3 separate regions of the Homo sapiens genome follow, and all the other regions are linked to region 1. The links are contacts of gene promoters, found by promoter capture Hi-C in blood cells and fetal thymus (Javierre and others, 2016). All regions are on one chromosome and are shown on one strand. Each heading gives the region's core, a stretch centred on a gene start or on the middle of the fragment in contact. The rest is flanking DNA. Distances are from core to core; before and after follow the strand shown. Region 1 holds the start of PTBP2 (polypyrimidine tract binding protein 2). Region 2 has its middle 43 kb from the start of LINC02790. Region 3 has its middle 26 kb from the start of LINC02790.

Region 1 (3,540 bases), core at 461-2,960:
TTTTTAGGATAGTCCATCATTCATAAATCTTCCAGCCACTCACACACAGATGGGGATAAAAAATACCACAGATGATCCGTGACTTACCTGTACTGTTACCAACCTGGTTTTCTAAAAGTAACTTTCAAATGTGAGACAACTTGTGGTATTTTTTAACAACACATTCAATAGCCAAAAAGAACAAAACCCAAAACACTATGCCATTTCTACAATGCCAGTATACTGAGATTAATAATTTAACGCTTAAACTCTTTAGTAGTCTCCACAGGAACCAGGAATCAGGAAACATGAATTCTAGTGCAAGTTTTGACATCAATTTCCGTGTTGATCTGGGGGGAATACTGAACTTCTCTGGATTTGTTTCATCTGGAAAATAATCTTTAGGTAACATCTAGGATGATTTGAATTCTGTGAGACTGTGTTAACTTTTATAAAATCTTGTTTTTAGTACCTTTTAAAACACACCAAACTCTAGGCGCTTAACCAAATTGTTGATTCTTCAAATACTCACTGATTTTAATAAATGTACTTGTTAAATGATACTATGTTTACACTCCCAAAAGAGCTGCATACTGCTGTATTTTTGACCTTAAGCGTGCCCCCTTTCTAACATTGAGTTAAATTACTGAGTCTTTTCAGGTGTGAAGCATATGAGCGAGACATCGGTCCCTACCATTTCACAGTCTTGCCTCTCACCTCACTCAGCATTCCGTCTTGACTCAGGTTCGCAAAGATGCAGCATGGTTCTGGGTTTTTATAGTCGTTTTTCCAGAAACTGACCAAAGTAGCTAAAGAGATAGCCCTTTGTTGACTATCTGCTCTTGTTTCTGCCATTGCTGTTGGCCTTTGCCCATGTGACTGATGTCGGCTTCAAACACTTCGTTTTTTAGATGATTTAATTTCTGGGCCCTTTTGCCAAGCCTTGAATGTTTTCAGTCCCCACAAAAAGGCATTTTTTCCTCCCTCCCGCCCCCACTACCAGACTCAAATGAAAACAAAGGAGTATGACATCTGCCCTCCCCCTTCCTCCCGCCGCCGCACGCCCTCCCCCCTTCCCCAGCGGCTCCCACTAGGCTTTCCCCGGAGCTCCCGCCACCGGCATCTCTCCCGACCACGGAGGGCCGGGCGAGGCCGGAGAGGTTGCTCATGGCTGGGGTCCACATGGGGTGCCTCTCTCCTCTTCCCCTAGAGGCTCCCCCAATCCAAAGGCCTGTCTCTGCCCATCCCACTCGCTCTCACAGGCACCGCTAACCCAAGGGTCGGGTCCCAAGGTACGGATCGAAATGGCTCCTAGAGGGGGCAGGGACAGACCGGGGAGACGTTATGGGGTTCCCACCCCATCCCCCGCCGCCAAGCCGGTGCCCGCTCCCACTCCGGGATCCTCACCCCCGCCATCGCCCCTATGCCTCCCCAGCCTCCAAGCCCGCTTTCTTCTCATTTTCTCGACCAAAGCCCGCCGGGGGAAGCAAAGGGAGGGGTGTGTGCGATGGGGCGGGGGTTGGGTAACGGCAGCCCAGCCCTGGGAGGGGCCGCGGGAGGGTTTCTCCCCGGCCCGGGACCGGGCCGAAGGACGGTCCAACTCCTCTCTCACACACACCTTCTCGCCGGCCCGATTACATACCCGTCCATTGCCGAACCGGACAAAGCTTCGCTCACAAGAACCGAGCCACGCAGCCAGCGAGCCACACAAGCGGCGAGAAAATGGCGGCTGGGGCCCGACGGAAATTGCCGAAGGTGCCGAGGCGCACGGGCCACCGCGCGGCAGCGGCGGCGGCGGAAAGAGCCGAGCGCGCCGGCGCCCGGCAGCGGGAGGCGAGCGGCAGGGCGCTGGGACTAGGGGGAGTGGGCGCCGCAGCCGACGCCTCCTCCGCGCCTTCGCGCGCCTTTCTCCCTCCGCCCTCCGCCTGCCGTCCTCTGGAACCTGGCGTTCTGCTGCAGACCGCGGCGACCTGGTTTCCCCTCCTTGTGGGGGCGTGGGTGGGACACCTCCCAACAGCTCTCCACACTCTCTCTGCCCTGACTGCAGGACGCCCCCAGGCAGCCTCCACTTTTCACTCCAAGCCAAGTACCAGCTTGGCTACCGTCAACCTATGCGGGCCAAGGAAAAAACATTGGATAGCTTTTCTCCTAAGCCATCTTTTATTTGCAGACCGGCTCCAGCCTCTAAAACAAAAATCTTTACCCCACTGAACGAGACCACTTGGTAACAACAGTACTTTCTCAAGCAAGTAGAACTCCTCAGACTGAAATACAGGCTTTTGCTTCAAGACCTGTAGTACCAAGCCAAGTGGAGGAAAATGTGATTCTCACTTCAGTTGGTGATTAGTGTGCGCCTGTAGAAAATATTCACAATACGCTAGGTGGAAATAGACACAAATGGAGCCATGTGTTAAAATGCTACAATAGTTGGAGTTTAACATTTGGAGGCATGAAAGGGAAAGTGGAGATGGGAGTGGGAACAACTGAGTCTTCAGATTGGTTAGAGAAAGTAGAAGCATTAAAATGGGCTATGCAAATTGACTCCCTTTGCTATATCTTACGGTCTCAATTTTTACTTGATACTATAGTGGACATTTTACTTCAACGTGTTTTTATCAGAGGCTCAACAAAATTGGGAAAGGCACCCGCTTGAAAATTTGCTCAGTGAGTAGCGACTTTGCCAGTACCCATCCTTCTCCTGCACCCTTCACCTCCACCCCCAACACACACAAGGACAAATGCACTTCTAATTCTGAAAAATGACAAATACTCCCTGTGTCCCTCCAGTTACTCTCAATACTCACTCTGGGTTTTTCTGTGTCTCCTTCAGGCAAAGCTCTTATCCTTTGCTAATTGGAATTTCATATACTAAATGATATTGTGTATAATTTTTAGAATTTTTTTTTTTGAGACCCAGTCTCGCTCTTGTTGCCCAGGCTGAAGTGCAATGGCGCAATCTCGGCTCACTGCAACCTCGGCCTCCCTGGTTCAAGCGATTCTCCTGCCTCAGCCTCCCGAGTAGCTGGGATTACAGGCACGCGCCACCACGCCCAGCTAACTTTGTATTTTTAGTAGAGACAGGGTTTCTCCATGTTGGTCAGGTTGGTCTCGAACTCCTGACCTCAGGTGATCTGCCCTCCTCAGCCTCCCAAAGTGTTGGGATTACAGGCGTGAGCCACCGTGCCCGGCCATAAATAATATTACTTTTAAATTGGATAGACCCTTAAAGAGCATCTTGTCCAAACACTTTGCTATAGAACTCTTCAAAGCACCCAAATTTTTACAAATTCTTGATTTGCCTATGGGATTGTCAATCGTTAAAAAAAAAAAAAAAAAAGGCCGGGCACGGTGGCTCACGCCTGTAATCCCAGCATTTTGGGAGGCCGAGGCAAGCAGATCACCTGAGGTCGGGAGTTCAAGACCAGCCTGACCAACATGGAGAAACCCCGTCTCTTCTAAAAATACAAAATTAGCCGGGGTGGTGGTGCATGTCTGTAATCCCAGCTACTCGGGAGGCTGAGGCAGGAGAATCGCTTAAACCTGGGAGGCCGAGGTTGCGGT
Region 2 (3,540 bases), core at 420-2,919, 770 kb after region 1:
GAAAGCAGGATCTTCAACAATAGATGGAAGATTACCAGGCAAATAAGAAAGCAAAGAAGATCTGAGGCAAAGAAAAACACCATGGTAAAGTAACAAAAATATAAAATGCCTTGGCGTTTTCGGGTAACTATAAATAGTTCAATATCACTAATGCAGGTAAGGAAGGTGGTAACCAAAAATGAAATTGAAGAAGCAGCCAAAGCCCAGAGGATGGAGGAACTGCCCAGTCATGGGAAAATACTTGGATTTCATTCAATATCTGTTTTAATAGCTTTCCACTTCTTTGATTATATATTTCTAGCAGTACATAAATTTTCTTATTAATCCCCATTATAGGTACATAAATTTCCTAAATTATTTACACACATTAATGACATTTACAGATATCTTGACACACTAACATTTACAATTTCATCATTAGCAATATTTCTAAGCTGATTCTACTCAAGCATGTGGCTATCACCAAGACATAAACAATATCAATTATTTCATTAAGTCAAAAAGAATTGTTTGAAAACAGAAAATAATAACTGGAACTTAAGGTTAAAAACAGAAGACCCAGCAGCTTGAAAACTCTCCTGGAAACAATCTACTCATTTTTGAAAGTTTATTAAGCCATGATATCAGTTGATTTTCATTTCTCTTAGAAACCTACATAAGCAAGCAATCTTCCCTGGCAAAGGGAGAAGAAGATCTGAATTCTCTATAAATAGATATAGTACTTGCAAAGCTTGGAGTTTATACAATTTATTCCCTTATAAAAAAGAATAAATAATTTTGCAAATTTTACAATTTATAATTATGTAACATATTCCTAGGACTATCCCCCAATCTTTGGAAGTGATTCATGTGTGTGAGGTAGTCTGCAAATTATGTTTTAGTAGATGACAATTAAATCTCTCTCTGCTGCTGCCATTATCCTGGGCTCTCCGGAGTTCAACCTGAGTATTCCATCTTAATTTGCAAGAAAGCTGATTTTCATGAAAATCTACATCAACTTTATGGTGAAAAATTTCTTGTCACCAAAAGATTGAAATAAAACACTTGAAAACTAATGGACCAACAGAAAAAATGGGCTATTTGCTTTTGGAATTATTTTACTAGCATTAGTCAAAAATTAAAAATGAAAACATTAAAGATGACATGAGCAACAAGTATAACAATGTCAATGCAAATTTCATAAAGATACTGCAGCATTGTACAATATAGTTGGGATCTAAAGTCATGTTAGAAAACTGCTTAGGAGCCATTTCTCTTCCAACTATTTACAAGTAATAAATGTGTTTGGTAAATAAAATATATTTGTAAATTTTCAAATAAATATTTGCTGCCAACACTATGCACTGACTTCACACAATATGTTCAATAGCATTTGAGGTGAAGTTCTACAGCAGGAGACCTTGGCAACTCTTTCACTCCATCTAAAATAATCCTGTAGTGAAGAATCTCCCACTTTAGAAAGGAATGTATGACATATTATAAATTGCTATTTAAAAACAAAGCATGCAGTAGTTGAGAACATGTACACCAAGCTCTACATGATACACTTCTTTATTTTTTTTGCTCCACACTTCTAGTAGACAAATGATGCTACATGGAAACATGTACATTACTGTGCATTATGCTTCAATAAATAGTAATTTTCATGTATATGTTATTATAGTTTTTCTGCAAAAATCACTAAAAATTGGTATTTACCAAATGTACATGATACCAACTATTATTTTTTTCCTATCTGTTATGTGGTATCAGGTACCAAGAAGCATAACCAAACAGATGCACAGACTTACTATGTGAAGGATTGTTTTTACACTGAATCCAGACATGCCATCTAGTGAATTATTGTAAAATTATTCACCTTCTGGGTTGAAAGCTGGGGACAAAGGATAGGGATTAATATTACACCTAAGTGTAAATTATCCTAGAGTAAATTGGAAGCAATTTATTTATACTATAATTACTAATGTGCACTCTTAAGCACTAACAAGATTCTAGAACTTTACTGGACAACTCTCTTCCTCTGGGACTTATTGAAGTAAAAGACAATGAGATATTTCAGGGCTCTATTTCCACCCAAGGGCCAATAATGTACACCATGAAACAAAAACTAATGTTGAGTGAAGGCTGATGTACATTGAGGACCTCCTGCTTATTCATTAATGAGGATGATGTCACCAATCAATAGAAAACCTGTTTTATGAAAAACTGGTTTTCTATTGATCAAAGAGGTTACAGCCTTTTGGTGCTATTTTGACTTAACAATGTATTCCAATGGCTTTATTTCTACATAGAGAAAAAGTCTTCATAAATGTTAGTTTCATCCCCACAAATCTTTAAAGAGCCCCCATTCCACCTTACAACATTGTCCATAAGTTTTCTTGTTTCCTTTCTTTTGTTCCTTTCATTATCATATTTATTTTTTTTATTTTTCTCCTTTTCAGAAAATCATACTTAATCTCAACACTCCTTCTCTTAGAACTACAGATTTTCTCTTTCCATGACACTTTTCATATAAATTGCTTCCATGTTTATTTGGTGCCCATATTTTAATTGATTTCTATTCCCACCACCATTCTGTAGTTAGATTTAAGCATCTAAAGAAGCTTTCTTATCTTCCACCAAGTCAGCTTTTCTAAGGATGTGTTAATGACTGACAGGAAGGACTGCTGGAGGTGATACTGACTCAGCAGACTCACCATAGATGAATAAACTATGGAAATGTCAGTTGTGGAAGGAAGGGGAAACTGGAAGAATGGTCTCAACTAAATAACAACAAAATAAATAAATAACTTATTGCAGCTAAGTTTCCTAGTTTCTAGACAGCCATAGCCACAAGTTTCAATGTAAAAAAATTCTATTTTAAATCATTCATTTAAAATACTACTCTATCTTACATTACAAGTAATTAGCCCAACCTCATATGCCACTCTAAATGTATGTTTATATTTTTAAAATTTTTTCCATGTGCAATGTGTATTAATCTTATTTTGGCTTCATGATTATCTTACATACATTTGAGCAGAACTTTCAGAAGAAAAATACAACATTGATTTAACTCCTTTGTTTATTCTGGGATTAAAATAAAATGTCATGAACTTCACTTTACTCATAACGAATTGAATATGGCAGAACATTTCTAGGGAATAAGTGACAAGATTTTCCTATTTACCTATGTTCCTAGACCAGCCATAAGGTTATTTGGAAGGCTACTGTATTTTCTTAAATCCACACAGAAAGTTCTTTTAAAGAAAGGTGATAGAAGAAATATTAAAGAAATTTGATATATATTGCAATCTCCTGCCTCTACTGAAGACATCAGAGAAAACTCTAAAGACATCAGTCACTTTATGTTTTCTACTGGATCCTGGAGTTCACTGGAGAGAGCTTCTATTTGTTGAAAAACTTATAACTTAGGCATGGTTTTAAGTATTTTAATTATATAATCAACATTCCATATCAGTTAAATTTTATCATCCTCATATTATAGATGAGGAAACTGAGGCTCAACATTAATTAAGGTGCTTAAATAAAATGAATAGT
Region 3 (3,540 bases), core at 268-2,767, 760 kb after region 1:
AACTTTAGTTTCTCTTCCCCTTCCAATGGGGGAGGGTAATATAAAATTGCTAAACTCTAGAAAATTCATGATGTTTGTGTCACTCACCACTAATTTGGTTATATGCCATTTTGAATTATTCAGTAGTCTTCTCAGCTAGATTTTAAGTGCCCTAGATATATTTCCCGTTACCTAGCACAGTGCTGGGTGATAACTAGCTGTTTTAAAAACACTTCTTGATGGACTGAATATTTACTGGAAAAATATTGGAGGCCAAGAAAAGACATATTCACTTAGTTGAATATTCTCTGGTCTAGAATTGTCCTCTATCAGCAGTGTGAAACAAGATGGTTGTAGAGTTTGTTTGAAAAGGAAGTATTTTCATTATCAATTTAAAATACACTGTCTTCCAATTGTTATGTTACATTATCTATAACTAGAGGATTTGTTCATGCATAATTTTTTTACACATCTGAAAGTAAAATGGACTAATGTGTGACCTACCTACAGAAATAGCAGAAGTCATTTTAGACAGCCTGGGAAAGATAGCAAATTTTCAAAACCACATTCCTATTTAGCTGGCATATATATAACATTGTGTCTTCTTATCAGTTCCAGCAATACTATGTATATTAGGAGAAAAAAAAAGCATTCTCCACAATTAGCTTCCTTTTTGGCCCTGATGAAAGAATTTCATAATCTAATTTTTTGTTTTTTCATAAAGTTCTTCATTGAGAATGAGCTGAGATGTTGAAATTGTGATTTAGATACAGAAGCCATCAGCTAGATAGTGTATTAATGTACTTCAAGTGTTGCAGCAACAGTTAAAAGGAAAAAAAGTTAAAAGTACTAAGAAGGTTAGTAGGGTTATCGGAAACATATGGTGTTTTTTAAAGTTTTCCTGAATGCAGCAGGGGTTCTGTGGATTCATTAAGGAAAGAAAAATGATGAAGGCAAAATGTGAGTGAGAAGTAAGCTTTTATCTGATGAGTCTTTTCCGTCTCATCCCATCTGTCTCAACCTAATCACACTTAGATGTGTTGAAGCTATCTACAGAGGTTAAATGTATTTTTGAAGTTCAATAAATAAGGTTATGTCTCTTGAAAAAAAAGTAGCAGACTGTATTATACTAAATAGTAAAATAGCAGATCCACCTAGTAATGCAAATTTTTTTGTAAGATAATACATATGAGAAGTATGGATTGTGAATAGAATTGTTTGGTTGCGAAACCAGACATTTCTTTAAAAATCAAAGAGAGGAGCACCTCTTTCAGGCCCCGCACCATCTGGGAAGTGAGGAGCGCTTCTGCCCTGCCGCCATGCAACCCTACAGGTGTGAAGTGGCAGCCTTGTGTGTGATCTTTCTGCCCTCCCCAAGTTTGCATTTTCGACAGTAAAGTTTACTTTTAAATTAAAAGATTTAAATTGGGGAAGATAAAAAAAATCATAAGACAATATACATGATAAAGGCATTAGTAGTGTCATATATAGTAATGCACTATATAATGACACTTCTGTCAATGATGGACTGCATAAGACTATAATACAATATTTCATTGTACCTTTTCTGTGTTTAGATATTTTTAGATACACAAATACTTACTATGTGTCCCAGTTGACTATGTGTTCAGCGCAGCAATATGTTGTACCAGTTTGTATCCTTGGAGAAATAGACTACACCATATATCCTAGGTGCATATTAAGCTATATCATCTAGGTTTGTGTAAGTATACTTTATGATGTTGATCCAATGACAGAATTGCCTAATGACACATTTCTCAGAAGGTATCCTCATTGTTAAGCAATGTATGACTGTATTATAAAGTCATAGGTTCACATTAAGTGTTTTCAAGGAGCAAGAGACAATTTTCATTTGGACAAAGTAGATGAATGTTCTTATTTGTAGTCTATTTTCTCTTCTTAGAAGAAAACATGCTTTCTTCTGCATAATGTCATAAAGATCCAAGTACTTTTCAATTTTTAAATTCTTTTGCTCCAATCTGCATATCCTTCTCCAACACCTCCCTATTCCTCTTTTCTGCTCTCAAAATGCACGGATATCTATAACCTTGGGAAAGCCTGTACTTACCTGAAGCTTTCTTAGGTATGTGTTTCTTGTTAACAAATTTTGAGTGAGTTATCCACCTTTACACAAGTCATGCCTAGCCTGATGTCTTCTTCCTCCACTCTATTGAAGTTGCATTCACACCTTTCATGGGCACAGATTTTGTTTCCCTAACTTGAATATAAGCTTTTGTAGGAAGAACCTGCAATAAGCAATTTCGGGGGTTTGGCTACCATTGTACACTGACCTTAAAAAAAATAAATGAATTGTTAAATTTATGAGTGGACTTTAAATGCTCAATTGAATCCACACAACTATTAAGATAAGCAAACCACCCTTCATTACAATGAAATACTCTCTGATGTGAGAAATCTTCCCCTAAAAGCTAACCCATCTGCCCTTTCTCAGGTGGCAAAAGACACACTATTTTTTTCCTTGTGTATTTGCTGCCAATTTCTAGGAATCCCAGTGAGGAAAACACAGAGTAATAAGTGTGAGTAGTGAGTTTCTAATATCATGGTAAAAGAGTCTGGCACCAGGAGAGAAGCTCAGATTTCCTGGGCATCTATTAAACAGTATGTATTAAGTCCCTAATACATCTACTCTAGTACTAAGAAGGCTATCAAAGACTATCTAGATACAGCCCTTAATCTAAAGAAGCTCACATGTTCATAATACAAAAAAGAATATGGAAAGAAATTTTTAACTTATTTTAAAAAGGAATGTCCAAAACCTCTTCTAAAAATGACAGTACTGTTAGCTGCCATACCTAATTTATAGCATTGCTCTGAAGATCACATGGACATGAAAATAATTAAAAACATAAAATTGCAAACTCTACACACTTGCAAAAAATCTGTCATCATGTCATGTCACATTTTTATAAGATTTATGAATACCTATAATTAGATAAAGTTTTTTATAAATGCCACTATAGATATTAAAAAACAAGGACTTGAAGGCATACAATTTCAAGTAATAATCCAACTCGTAAAAGTCAAGGGTAAAGAAAGAATCCTGAAAGCAGCTGGAGAAAAGAAACAAATAACTTAACAATGGAGCTCCAATACAGCTGGTGGCAGACTTTTTAGTGGAAGCCTTACAGGCCAGGAGAAAGTGGTATGATATATTTAAAGTGCTGAAGGAAGAAACCTTCTACCTTAAAATAGTGTATCTGGTGAAAATATCCTTCAAACATAAAGGAGAAATACTTCTTCAGACAAACAAAAGCTGAGAGATTTCATCAGCACCAGACCTATCCTACAAGAAAGGCTAATGGAAATATTTCAATCAGAAAGACAAGGATGCTAATAAGCAACAAAAAAATCACCTGAAGGTACAAAATTCACTGGTATAGTAAGTACACAATAAAACATAGAATATTATAAAACTGTAGCTATAGTATGTAAACTACTCTGATCTTAAGTAGAAAAACTAAATGATGAACCAATAAGATATAAATAGAAACAACAAAAAGTTGAAAAGTGTGGGGGGTG

The links. The method cuts DNA at HindIII sites, captures the fragments that hold promoters and counts their contacts. A CHiCAGO score of 5 or more calls a contact.
Region 2: a contact is called between a fragment that was not itself captured here and the fragment with the promoter of PTBP2 in region 1, in 1 of 17 cell types (megakaryocytes). The highest score is 8.1, in megakaryocytes.
Region 3: a fragment that was not itself captured here is called in contact with the fragment with the promoter of PTBP2 in region 1 in 1 of 17 cell types (megakaryocytes); the score reaches 7.1 in megakaryocytes.

What each region holds. Positions count from the first base shown.
Region 1 is chr1:96,719,954-96,723,493 of GRCh38, reverse strand. It overlaps PTBP2 (polypyrimidine tract binding protein 2), which reads right to left and starts at 1,710. Exons shown (of 14, transcript NM_021190.4): 1 at 1,622-1,710. The coding sequence starts at 1,629. RefSeq lists silencers at 1,235-1,514, 1,745-1,944. The HindIII fragment of the contact is 2,234 bases long and covers 1,649-3,540 here.
Region 2 is chr1:95,947,350-95,950,889 of GRCh38, reverse strand. No RefSeq gene overlaps it. Among named protein-coding and RNA genes, the nearest start is that of LINC02790, 43 kb to the left of the region's middle. The HindIII fragment of the contact is 1,873 bases long and covers 733-2,605 here.
Region 3 is chr1:95,964,082-95,967,621 of GRCh38, reverse strand. No RefSeq gene overlaps it. Among named protein-coding and RNA genes, the nearest start is that of LINC02790, 26 kb to the left of the region's middle. The HindIII fragment of the contact is 1,119 bases long and covers 958-2,076 here.